Linked DNA regions of Homo sapiens: region 2 is linked to region 1. Evidence: promoter capture Hi-C in 16 types of primary human blood cells and fetal thymus (Javierre and others, 2016). All regions are on one chromosome and are shown on one strand. Each heading gives the region's core, a stretch centred on a gene start or on the middle of the fragment in contact. The rest is flanking DNA. Distances are from core to core; before and after follow the strand shown. Region 1 holds the start of CCNJ (cyclin J). Region 2 overlaps ZNF518A (zinc finger protein 518A).

Region 1 (6,183 bases), core at 263-2,762:
ATCCCAGTGAACAATATTTTCAAAGTAGAAGCGATAAATACAGTCTACTTCTTATACTAATGATTATAGTCTGTGCCCCATTTTTCTGAAAGTGTTCTTAAATAGGCCCTGGACAGTTATTTAGAAGCCAAATTATTATAAAGTTGTTTAATAGTCATGAAATGGAACCCAAGGATGTAGACACTATTTAAATGCCATTAAAAATGGCATGAAGCTTTTAGCCTGATGTGTCTACCTTCACTCTAGAGGACCCTGCAACTGAGAGACAGGCCAGGGCAGCCTTCTCCCTGGACTATGTCGGGTTAGGCCGGGATCTGCCAACTTCAGCTTCTGAGTTTCCCTTTTCTTGCCTTTGGTTCCTGCGGGCCTGCTCTCCTGGGTATAAGCATCGTCTATGGATAGGGTACGGCTCATATACATGTCTGCTGATGATCTTCAAATGAAGATGCCACCCAGAATCACATAAAATGTATTTATCACTTTGTAGTAGTTCTTTATCATCATGTATCTTTTTGGACAAAGGATTCAAAGTAAAAGGGGTGAAGTTTTAAAAATATTTACGTTTTACTATTAAGAGATTGATCTCCAGTCTCAGAAAAGTGGACAGTCTCACTGTCCTAGGGTTACCATCCACCTCTTTTGTGATAATCCACCAAAGAGGTTAAAATACAATTGATTAGGTTTCCTCTAATCACATTTCAGCCCCCATATCACCTCAATTGACGTCGGAGTGTTCTCACAGTTTTGCAGTTTCCTGATTTACGAGCACAGATGGTTAATTACATCCACCATGGGTTTGACAAGCAAGGTTACTAGAAGTAATCTTAAATGTCTTCATTCAAAGCTCTTGGGAATCCCTACAGCAACGAAAATAAGGAGGGGGAAGAGATTAATTAGGTTTCTAGAAGAAAGGTGGAGTTTGAGGTGGAACTTAAAAAAAGAGCATAATTTCACAGGAAAAAAAAAACGCTTCAGGGGCTGCAGAAACAGCTAAAGCACATTTGGAGGGCCTGATGATCCACGGAGCAGCCCCTGGGATGGAAGCGGTTGGTGCAACGTGAAGTAAGGTAAACCGAATCCATGCCGTGAAGACTTTTAAACGCCAAACTGAGGCGTCGGAACTTTGCTCCGCGGGCATCGAGGAGCCATCGAAGGTTCTCAGCAGGTGAGTGGCCTAACTGGATTGGTCACTGCAGTGATCCACCTTACAATTTCTCCGGCGCTCTCTGCCGACCTCAGCCGGCGATCAGGCCGGCTTCGCAGTAGGTGGCGGCTGAGCGCCCCGGCAACCGAAGCGCCAGGCCAGCCCAGGCCACGCCGCGCCGTGCGGGATGCTGACCGTACCCAGGCGGGAGCCGCCGCGCCGCCGCCTGGCGCTGCACCTGGGCCCGGCCCGGCCGCCAATTGGACGGCTCGGGGCGACCCCGCTGTATCGCGAGACGAGATTGGCAGCGGCGGGGCCTCAAGTGCCCCCGCGCTGGCTTTGTATGCGGAGCCGCCTGCCGGTCCTTTAACAATGGGCGGCGCGAGCGTCCAGGCGCTGGGCTCTAGCTGAGGCCGGCGCTTAGCGGCCCACTGTCCGCAGCATGAGCGGGGCCGGCGTCCGCCGCACGACGGCGGGGCTGGGGCTGTGAGGGCCGCGGTTCCGGGTAAGGGAGCCAGCGTGGGGCCGGGCGGCCCGGCAGGCCTGGGGTAGGCGTGGGGCAGCGGACCCTCCCGGGGTGAGGCGCAGAGCCTGGCTGGCCCGGCCTTTTGTTCCCCTTTCTGAGGCCGCGCGGAACGTGCGTTTCTCGGGGCTCCCGGGGAGGAGCAGGCTCCCGACGTCCATGCGGAGACCCGCGGCCAGGCAGACGCTCACCCCCGGGCTTTGCCATGGGAGCGTTTCCCCTCAGCGGGGCTATGAGCGTGTCACCTCTCCCCGCTCCTCAGGGAGGGCGGGAGAACTCCAGCCCCGGACGCAGGGAGCCCCAGCCGGGCCTCCCCCAGCTCTTCCCGAGCTCGCACCTGGCTCCGCGCTTTGGCAACTCAGGGCCCGAGTGGATCCCCTTTTGCCCGACACATAGTCGAGCAGTGAGTCTCAGAGTCCTTCGGCTCTTCCTGCGGGGGCAGACCCGGCTTCGCGTGTGGCGTTGGGGGAAACGACTCGGGTCGGGCTGGGTTGAGGAAGAGTCAAGTGAAGATGAGCAGCCACACCGGGTGGCCTGAGGTCACACCCCCCGGGGAGGGGGCGCAGAGGGTCGCGGGGGAGCCGGCAGTGACCGCGCCTGGGGTGTGTCTTACAGACTCGAGTTGCCGCGTCGGGCTGGGCGCGCCGCCGGGTCCCATGGAGCTGGAGGGGCAGTGGTGGCGAGGACAGCTGGCCGCCGATATTCACCAAGCGCTTCGCTACAAGGTAACTCCGAGGCCCGGCCTGCCTTCTCCTTCTGTGTGTCGCGCCAGTTGTTCTGAATCTCGGCTCTCTAGAAGGTCTAGTCAGGTTCTTTACTCACTATCTTCCGGGCCAGAAAAGGCGAGTTTGCTCATTTGCTCAAGGTTAATTAACTTCTTGGCTCCTTCTCTGGGATGTATCAAAAGAACCTGCAACCTGAATGAGTAGGGAGATGGTAGTTGGGCCAGGGAAGGTGGAAAGGGGCGTTCTGGCTTCCAGGTGGGTCATGAATTTGATCTTGTATTTTAAAAGATATATACACTGAATTTTTGTTGGGCAGAACAGCCCTCTTTGTTCGAGAGTTGCCGTTGCATGCAGCCAGTTTAAGTCGCTTTTGTACATAAATTCCTCAGCCTTTCCGCTAACTTGCCGTGAGACGTGGACAAGTGAAATTTCTGTTTCTTGATTTCCTCATCTGTAAAATGAGGAATAATGAGTGTGCCTTATGATTCTGGCGATTGTGAAACTTAAGTTAGTACCGTACATGTGCTTAGAAACTGCTCTTGGTATATAGTAAGCACTAAGTGATAACTTCTTATCACTTACCCCTCAGGATTTGGGCTGTTCAAAAGCCCTAAAGTGGAGGGAGTTGGCTGCCCCTTCCTGCTGATATCAAAGGCAGAAAGTAGACTTAATAGATATTGGAAAAAAATACTTTTCCAACACAAAGCAAAGTCTGTGTATTGTTGCTATTAAGTAACGGTTTTACTCTGCATGTGGCAAGGCAGATTAATGAGACATTTCTGCCTCTTCGATAACCAAAAGAGAGACCAGATCCAAAATGATCTCTAGCTTAACTCAGTTTCACCTTGGATAAAGAAAGCCATTTGTTAAATGTAGAAAATTGAGAAAGAAGCAAAACAGCTGACTTTCAATAAAAAGGATTCTGACTCTTGGGGTTGAGATCCTGGAATGATAATGAACTTTTATCTTGAGTTTCTGACCAGGTCAAGTAGATTGGAAAACCTAATTCTGACTTAAATTGTTACCCTTTTCTAGGCCTGAGATTTCTAAATGCTACTTAACTAATTCTGACATTCAGTCTCTTAGATTCACTAAAATACAGTTCAGCCCCCTAGGAGATGGTTTATACCACATAAAAATTCTAACTAATGGGATCTCTGGAGTGTTAGTTAGGAAAGAGTTGCAGTTTCTTGGAAAATTGTCCAGATACACTTTTGATCTTTTTTTTTTTTGGCAGATGTCATCTTTCAATGTGAAATGTTTTCTTTTTTAAAAAAATTAATATAGTTGCACATATTTTGAAAAGTGTTTTAAGTGTCAGCCTTTTTATCCCTCTGGTATGTAGTGAAATTAATTAGTTGATATTAAGAGTACTTTTTTTTTGAGTTGGAGTTTCACCTGACCTCAGGTGATCCACCTGCCTCGGCCTCCTAAAGTGCTGGGATTACAGGCATGAGCCACTGCGCCCAGCCAAGAGTATATTTTTTAATTGGCATGAAACTTAAAAGGTTTTTCTTGGTGATTTCCATACTTTTCAATCATTTTATGTGTAGATCATTTTAATTCGTGAGTGATTATCTGCATTTTGTCAATTGAGTTTGGACATGGGTTCTTTGTTTTTTTGTTTTTTCTCCTAGATTTAGATTTGTTGAAGGCTTTTGTGGATTAGTTTCTGGAGCATCCAAGGCATAAGACCCAACCTTATACTCACTCAAGTTGCTTATGAACTATCAGAGGACAAGGTAGCACAGGGTGTGAAGGAATGCCACTGAAAGTTTTATTGGGCCACCTATGGCCTACTGCCCTGGGTTGTCTTTATGTTTAAGCATTATGCAAACCATGGTTCTTACTGGCAACACTTTATACAAGAATTTACATTAATCTGTAAAACTTAAACTTGTGGAACTGGAGAGACCACTGTTTGTAATACACTGAAGGAAACTTAAAATGGACTTTTCTCCTAGAAAAGACGTGGTAATTCCAGGCTATTAATTGGTGATTCAGTCGGATAGTCATCTGTTTTTCTTCAACATGTTGATCATTTATGACATACATGATATCATGCCAGGTGTTAGAGCAATAACAGTGAACGAGACATGATCCTTGCCTTCATAGTCTAACCTTATCTATAATTTAGAGCATCCACATTTAGGTCTTCCTTTGGGCAGTTGCCATTGAGATACTGCAGAAGGTATTCTATGTTTAGGCCCTAGGTTTGTGGAGAAATATTTGGTGTGACTAGCATTGTGTTTACTAGGGAAGAGTGAAAATGACAATGAATGGAAATCATGCCAACTATCCACTCCCTCAAAAAACCCCTACAAAGCAGCTGTCACCTTACACCCTTTTGTCTCCTTTCTTCTCATTATTTTGCTGTGTATAGTTAGTGTCATAGGCTGTTTGGGAAAGTGTTTTTAGGAGCCTTAATGACAAATGGGAACAATTCTAGCTTTGTGAGAAACATTAAGAAAGTGAAGTCCATCAGTGTTTTCCAGGTGTTTCCAGGGAGTCTTTAAGACCATGTTCAGGCCACTTTTTGGGAAAACCTGCTCTGGTTTTGCCTTTTTTCCCCAACTCCCTAATCCCTGAGCTAAGTTAGATTTTCTTCCTAGGTGTTGCCATAATAACCTGTGGTGACTATATTGTGTGATAAGCTCTGTATTTGATTCACCTGCTAGAGATAGGCTTGAGACTGTTTTTCCAGCTTTTATGCCTGGGTTAGTATAGTGTCTGCTGCATGGGAGATGCTCAATAAATGTCACATGGTGGCAGCAAAGGTAAAGTTGCAACTCACTTACACCATTGTAAAGATCCAAAGAAAGAGTTAAGGAGAAAAGAAAAATCCTAGGAACTACATGAGAAATCGGCATCTTCCCTTTATGTGGAAAAAAAAAATTTTTTTGGCCAGGCATGGTGGCTCACACCTGTAATCTCAACACTTTGGGAGGCTGAAAGCAGGTGGATCACTTGAGTCCATGAGCTGGAGACCAGCCTGGGCAACATAGCGAGACCCTGTTGTACAGAAACTAACTGGGCGTGGCAGTGAGCGCTTGTAGTCCCAGCTACTCCAGAGGTTGAGGTGGTTGGATTGCTTGAGCCTGGGAGGTGGAGGGTGCAGTGAGCCAAGATGGCACCACTGTACTCCAGCCTGGGCTACAGGAAACCCTGTCTCAAAAAACAACAATTGATGTATTCTTTGGCTACACTACTAAATTACATTGACTATTTTATCCATTTATCTTAGGTAATATTAAGTTAGGTGAATATATAACTTCCCTTTTTTGTTTATCGTAAAATGTATCAACATAAAACTTTTTTTCCCCAACTTTTAAGTTCAGGGGTACGTGTGCAGGATGTGCAGGTTTGTTACATAGGTAAACGTTTGCCATGGTGGCTTACTGCACAGATCATCCCATCACCTAGGTATTAATCCCAGCATCCACTAGCTATTCTTCCTGATCCTCTTCCTCCTCCCACCCCCACCCTCCGACAGGCCCCAGTGTGTGTTGTTCCCCGCAACATGTGTCCATGTGTTCTCATCATTTAGCTCCCACTTATAAGTGAGAACATGTGGTATTTGGTTTTCTTTTCCTGCATTAGTTTGCTAAGGATAATGGCCTCCAGCTCCATCCATCTCTCTGCAAAGGACGTGATCTTGTTCCTTTTCATGGCTGCACAGTATTCCATGGTCTGTATGTACCACATTTTATCCAGTCTATCATTGATGGGCATTTAGGTTGATTCCATGTCTTTGCTCTTGTGAATAGTGCTTCAGTGAACATACACATGCA
Region 2 (6,183 bases), core at 1,238-3,737, 90 kb after region 1:
CTAACATTTTTTGAGTTTAACTGCAAATTTATAGAAATGCATTCACTATCTTTCAGCAAAATTGTCTTTTCTGAAATTTATAAAGAGACATTGCGTTCTGTTAACACTTTGAGGGTGTTGGGATTTCCTGGGGAAGGTAAGCATAGTAAACGATGTTGATTTTTGCCATAGAAACTGTAAATTAGATCATCCCTAGATACAGAAAATTGCCAACAAAAGGGGAGAATAAAATGTAGGTATGTTACACAACCAAATGTTTCCTGTTTGTTGCGTGAAAATAAGTATAATTACCAAATAAAACGTTTTATATCTGGTTTTATGGAAGGACAAAAGACAGTAACCACAATGAACACCCACTGTGTGCATTGATAATGTATGAACTTTTAAATGCTTCAATTTTTTGCCATGGTCACACTTCGGATTCTGTTCTAGTCTCTCTGGTAATAGTATGCTGTAATCCCAGAAGTTTCTATATTTTGAAATATTACAGAGGGACTATACTTTAGCCTAGATCTATAATTTGACTTCAGGATATGCTTTAAATGCCCTTTAAGTGTATTTTTGTTGTTTACTTTTCTGTTTATAGTTGTTTAGAATTGTTCTCATTGAGGCATTGTGACATTGCATACTTTAGAGCACTTAATACTACTTTTTTTTTTTTTCTTTAAATGATAGGAGACTTGAATCTTGCCCACATTCCTTCAGGTATGCTACTGAAGGTTTTGTGGCAAAGTGCTATTAGCAGAACAAAAAGGTTTTAACACCGTCTTGAAATTTTTATTTATTATCTGGTCCCAGGTGTGTAGGCTGTGAGTATTTCAGTTCTATATGGGGTATTGGCTTCTCATGGTGAGCAGTTTTCATGGCATATTAGATACCAGAAATGAGTATTAAGGGTTAGTATTGTGGTGGTAGGATAACTGAATTGGAACCGGATCCAGATATTATTTCTAGTTTTGTGACTTTGGGCAAGGCTCATTTTCTTTTTCTTGTAATAAATGAAGATACTGAGTTAGATTGATTCTAAGCTTTAGGTTGTGACTTTTGCAAATTTGTGACATGTTATCACTGGTCATCAATGATGTATGCTTAAGTGTATAGAAGTTTTTTCTTAGTTTTTTTTTTTTTTTTTTACATTTCTTTATACACCTAAGTTGAATGTGAAGTGTAATTGAACAGTTTTTGTCGTCAAAAGTTTTAAAATCTTGGTCTTCATTTCCAGATATCATCTCTTCTTTTGATCACTGTTCCTGATTGTGACATTGTGCAAGTGTTAAATTGTGTGCCTTTTGTTCCTGAAGAAAGAGGTATGGTAAAGATTGAAATACTGGAGTATATAGTCTATTAAGTAGTAAGTTGGTATGTTTTAATATTGGACTAAATAAAGTAAAATATAGGTTAAGTATCCCAAATCCAAAAATCCAGAATGCAAAATTTTTTGAGTGCTGACATGATGGTCAAAGGAAATGCTCTTTGGAACATTTTGGATTTTGAATTTTTGGATTTGAGATGCTCAACTGGTATAATGCAAATACTCTAAAATCCTAAAAAAGAAAAAGAAAAAAAGAATGAAACCCTTCTGTTCCCAAGCATTTCAAATAAGAGACACTCAACCTGTAGTTTTACATATACATGAGTTTTCATAAGTTATATAAGTTATAGTTTTATTTTATTTTTTGGCTAAAATAAAATACTTAAACATGAGTTTTCATTTTAATCTAAGCAAAAAAAGTAATTTTTGGTTTCATAGTTTATTACTTAACATTTTATTAGAAATCCAAATATAACTTTAACTATCATCCTTCTGAATAGAAAAGTGGCATTAAAGTCTTCTGGGTAATGAACAGTGGAGATAAAGGTGGTAGATAGATGTTTCAAAGCTATATGAATGGCCAGAAGATTGTGGTTTTGGTCTAGTAAGTGCAAAGCAATGTACCTAAAGAAAAATTATCTGATATGTGTTTATATTATGACTAATAGCATCTTCATTATGAATCAGGAAAGGGACTTGGGAATCACTATAGTGTTATGATTGGTTTCTTGAAGACAGTCATGTGAATGTCTGGGTGTAGACAAAAAAGGAGGAAAAATATGCCAACAAATCTATGGTATTATAAGGAAAGCTTTGGAAATGTAGTGGAAAATATTGTACCCATGTAAAAAAACATGTTTTTTCTACCCTCAAAACACAGATGTCTCCTACTCTTTGTGTTGGATAGGTCCTGGGATCTTTGAAATGCTAAGATTCTTGGATACCACAGTATCATAAAATTCCTCTAAATGCAGTAAGTATACACATAAGTATGACCGTAAATTAGGAATAAGATTATTTATGTAACTGCTGAAATAGCTGACATAGACTATACCACCTTACAGTATTGCTTTAATTATCATAATAACCGTGTTCTTCCCTGAACTTCACCAGCAAATGGATTTCTGTTCAGGGCCATTTTTTTACAAAGGCATGAATTTTTATTTTGTCAGAAAATAATGTACATTGAGTAGAGAGCAGTAGAGCTGAGTTGAGGTACCACGTTATCGTTTATGTCATTAAGTAACTTTTTCCTATATAATATTTGTTTGACTTCCTACCACGAGATTCACATGGGTACTGTGTTATTCCTGAAGAGATAAAGTAATTCTGAATGCTAAGAATTTTCCTAAAGGTTGAGCATCCCAAATCTAAAAGCCTGAAATCTAAAATACTCCAAAATCTGAAACTTTTTGAGTGCTGACATGAAGCTCAAAGGCAATCATCACTGGAACATTTTGGATTTTGGATATTCAGCCAGTAAGTAATGCAAATATTCCAAAATCCACAAAAATCTGAAATCTGAAACACTTCTGGTTCCAAGCTTTTTTGTTTTGTTTTGTTTTGTTTTTTTGAGACGGAGTCTCACTCTGCCACCCAGGCTGGAGTGCAGTGGCGCGATCTCGGCTCACTACAACCTCTGCCTCCCAGGTGCAAGCAATTCTTCTGCCTCAGCCTCCCGAGTAGCTGGGACTATAGGCGCATGCCACCATGGCTGGCTAATTTTTTTTTTATTTTTAGTGGAGACGAGGCTTCGCCATGTTGGCCAGGCTGGTCTAGAACTCCTGACCTTGAGTGATCTGTCTGCTTTGGCCTCCCAAAGTGCTGGGATTACAGGGGTGAGCCACTGCTCCCGGCCTACTTCCAAGCATTTTGGTTAAGGAATATTCAGTTTGTACTATTTGACCCAGACTACTCAGAAAAAGTAATGTAATGAAGAATGAAAGCTGTAGTTGTAGTGAAGTAAATAGGAGACTGCTGTGTGATGACTGACCAAAACGATTTGTATTAATTTATCTTGAAAACTTGTGAGCAAAGTCTGACTAAAAATTTAAAGTTGTGACTGGTATGGCTGCATGAAACAAGTGTCAGAATATTAGAATGAAGGTACATGATGTGAAGTTTCAGAAAATTAAGTGGGCTTCACATAGGTCTCATTTCATGAGGAAAGTCAGATAATTTCAAAATGTAGTAAGCTTATCGTCAATTCCTGATTAATATTGGTTTGTTGAAGGTTGTGGCTGGTAAAAGACATGTCATATATTGTTTTTGTCAACTCAGTATCTCTTCATTAGAGAACCACCCCTCCCCTATTCTGAGTGGTTGGTGGGCTGTCCGTCAGTCTTACTGTCTTATAACCTGAGCTTGGTCATCCCTATTGCAACAGTGATTGCTGTTACTCATGCAGAGCCAGTCAGAATCCTTTTTTTGAAATTTATGGTTGAATGCTAGGACAAAGATACTACCTTTTCTCTGAAATTGTTAATCTGGGAAGGTGCTGGTGGCATTCTTTACCACGTGTATGAAAAGCGCATCTGTGTAGTGGGAGAAAGTGAAGCCATAAGGAGATGGGAGATGGATGGTGGTAGTGCCAGTTTCAATCTCAGGGAACATGGTAAGTGGTACCTACTTTTCTTTTGATTTTGTGAACTATCCTGGTGTCCTTCTCAGTCCTTGTGCCAAAATTTTTTGTGTAAATTGGTTTGAATTGGATTGCAGCAGAAAGTGTTCTGATGAATATATGGCCCTTATGAATTTAAGGTCTAAAGTTTCAGATTGATCATTCACATCCTTCTGTAGTTCCCCACTTTCCTATACCTTATAAAGAGTTCCCTTTATTTATTCATCATTTGTGCATGCATTCAATCTACTTTCACTCAACCTACAAACATTTTTTTGAGTGTCCACTATGTACAAGTATGTGCAACTGCCTGGATAGGCAAGATTATATGTACTAGACTGAGTGGATGGTGGATATATAGCATATTTTTATTTATTTCTGGTGCACAGATTAATAAGCGTGTGTTGAGAATAATGACTGTGGTGCTTGGCATCTAAGTAATAATGTAAGAACAAGAAGAATTCCTTGTCTTGGAAGTGCTTCTAGTTAGGAATTCATATTAATATACAGCAAACACAACAGAAAAAACAGATAAATGAATGCACAGTTGTATTTTAAGTGAATTTTGATGGGAAGGAAGTGAGCAGGTTGGCCCATTTAGGAAGATTTCCTGAAGAATATACAACTTTAAATGTATTTCTGCTTATGAATGTGGCTTTGATAGGCACAGAGAATAACTGAAAAAAGGATGGAGTTAAAAATGATTATAGGCTGATCCAGGTTGGAGTGGAGATTGGTTTCACTGTAACAGTATGTGTTCTTTGGAAATGAGGTAGTGGAAAATAAGGTGACTGTTTTAGGTAAATCTATGTATGAGGCATTTGGAAAGCCAAGCAGAAATTTTGGCCCTTTCTACTAAGATGGAGATTTCTTTGAAAAAATGTGTATATTTCTTTTCATATAATTTCATTTTTGTATGCTAAAATGTGAATTAAATGTGATGAAATACTGTAAAATTACTCATTTTGGCAAAAACCTTTGTTTTATTCATCTGTCTTGAAGATTTTTTAAAAATAGCAATTAACTTGGAATGCCGATTTATAAATATGTATATATAACCTTTCTCAAAAAGGGAAAGGTAAGAAGAAATGTTATATATATTTATTTATTTCTTCTTACCTTTCCCTTTTTGAGAGATCTCTTAGTAATAGTCAAAGCCATACCCTATTCCTTAGTGAGAAAGCCAGTTTGAAACGAATGTAGCAATAGATGTAAAAACATTTAAAGGCGTTTTAATGTGGCTTTTTAATGAGCTGGCTTATGCCTGTAGTCCCAGCACATTGAGCAGCTGAGCTGGGAGGATCGCTTGAGCCCAGGAGTTCAAGACTAGCCAGGGCAACATAGTGAGACCCCATCTCTATTTAAAAAAAAATGTTTTTAAAGATAAGGAACAGACTTAAAGTGATGATTGATTGCTCATAGAACGTTCATTTTGGGCTCCAGAACTAGGAATGATGTAGAATTTATTGTTGTGTCATTGTCTCATTAAATGCTGTAGTTTCCTATGTCCTTGCCTACCTTCTTTCCTCAGAGCCTCGCATCTGACCCTCAGAGAGTAGCAGTTGGATTATTCCATTATACCAAGGTTGGCAAGCTTTTGCTGTAAATGGCCAGATAGTAAATATTTTAGGCTTTGTGGGCCATATGGTTTCTGGTGCAACTATTGTAACACAAAAGAAGCCATAGGCAATATGTAAATGAGTGAGTGTGGCTGTATTCCAGTGAAACTTAATTTACAAAAACAGGCAGCAGGCCAGATTTGGCCTGCAGGCCGTCATTTCATTCCACAAACTCTCTCAGTCACATCTGCGCACCTGCTAGCATCTTTATTTATCCTCCCCTCTAGTTACTATAGATGGATCATGTTTGCTCCTTTCTAAGTTCACCTCTTCAGCTCGTTCACTAGATTCCGTCCGTTCTAACCTGAAGGACTTCACTGCTGCATTTCTTTCCTATCCTTTATCATCAATTTTTTTATTTTTACTAGATCATTTTAATAAGCGTGCAGTCATACTGTAATTCCTCCCACCTTTAAAAAACAAAAAATAAATTGAAACAAAACAAAACAACTCCTTTATCTTAAAACTCCTTGAAAGAGTTGTCTGCACTGCATCACTACTTCCTCTCTTCCCATTTTGCCTTACATCCAAGCTTGTCAGCCTTTCTCCTCTAAAACTCCACTGAAACTGTTCTAATCCATGGTACCAGTGATCTTCACATTAAGTCTAGTTAGTCATCTTCTTACTTGACA

The links. The method cuts DNA at HindIII sites, captures the fragments that hold promoters and counts their contacts. A CHiCAGO score of 5 or more calls a contact.
Region 2: a fragment that was not itself captured here is called in contact with the fragment with the promoter of CCNJ in region 1 in 2 of 17 cell types (naive CD8 T cells and total CD8 T cells); the score reaches 5.3 in naive CD8 T cells.

Annotation. Positions count from the first base shown.
Region 1 is chr10:96,042,071-96,048,253 of GRCh38, forward strand. It overlaps CCNJ (cyclin J), which reads left to right and starts at 1,513. Exons shown (of 6, transcript NM_001134375.2): 1 at 1,513-1,649; 2 at 2,283-2,392. The coding sequence starts at 2,324. The region is part of intron 2 of ENTPD1-AS1 (ENTPD1 antisense RNA 1); the gene reads right to left. RefSeq lists silencers at 902-1,096, 1,224-1,793. The HindIII fragment of the contact is 7,328 bases long and covers 213-6,183 here.
Region 2 is chr10:96,131,364-96,137,546 of GRCh38, forward strand. ZNF518A (zinc finger protein 518A) reads left to right here. Exons shown (of 6, transcript NM_001330736.2): 2 at 1,223-1,307; 3 at 2,220-2,285. It overlaps LOC124902486 (a long non-coding RNA gene), which reads right to left. Exons shown (of 2, transcript XR_007062254.1): 1 at 5,052-6,183; 2 at 1-4,991. Among named protein-coding and RNA genes, the nearest start is that of ZNF518A, 4.2 kb to the left of the region's middle. The HindIII fragment of the contact is 732 bases long and covers 2,122-2,853 here.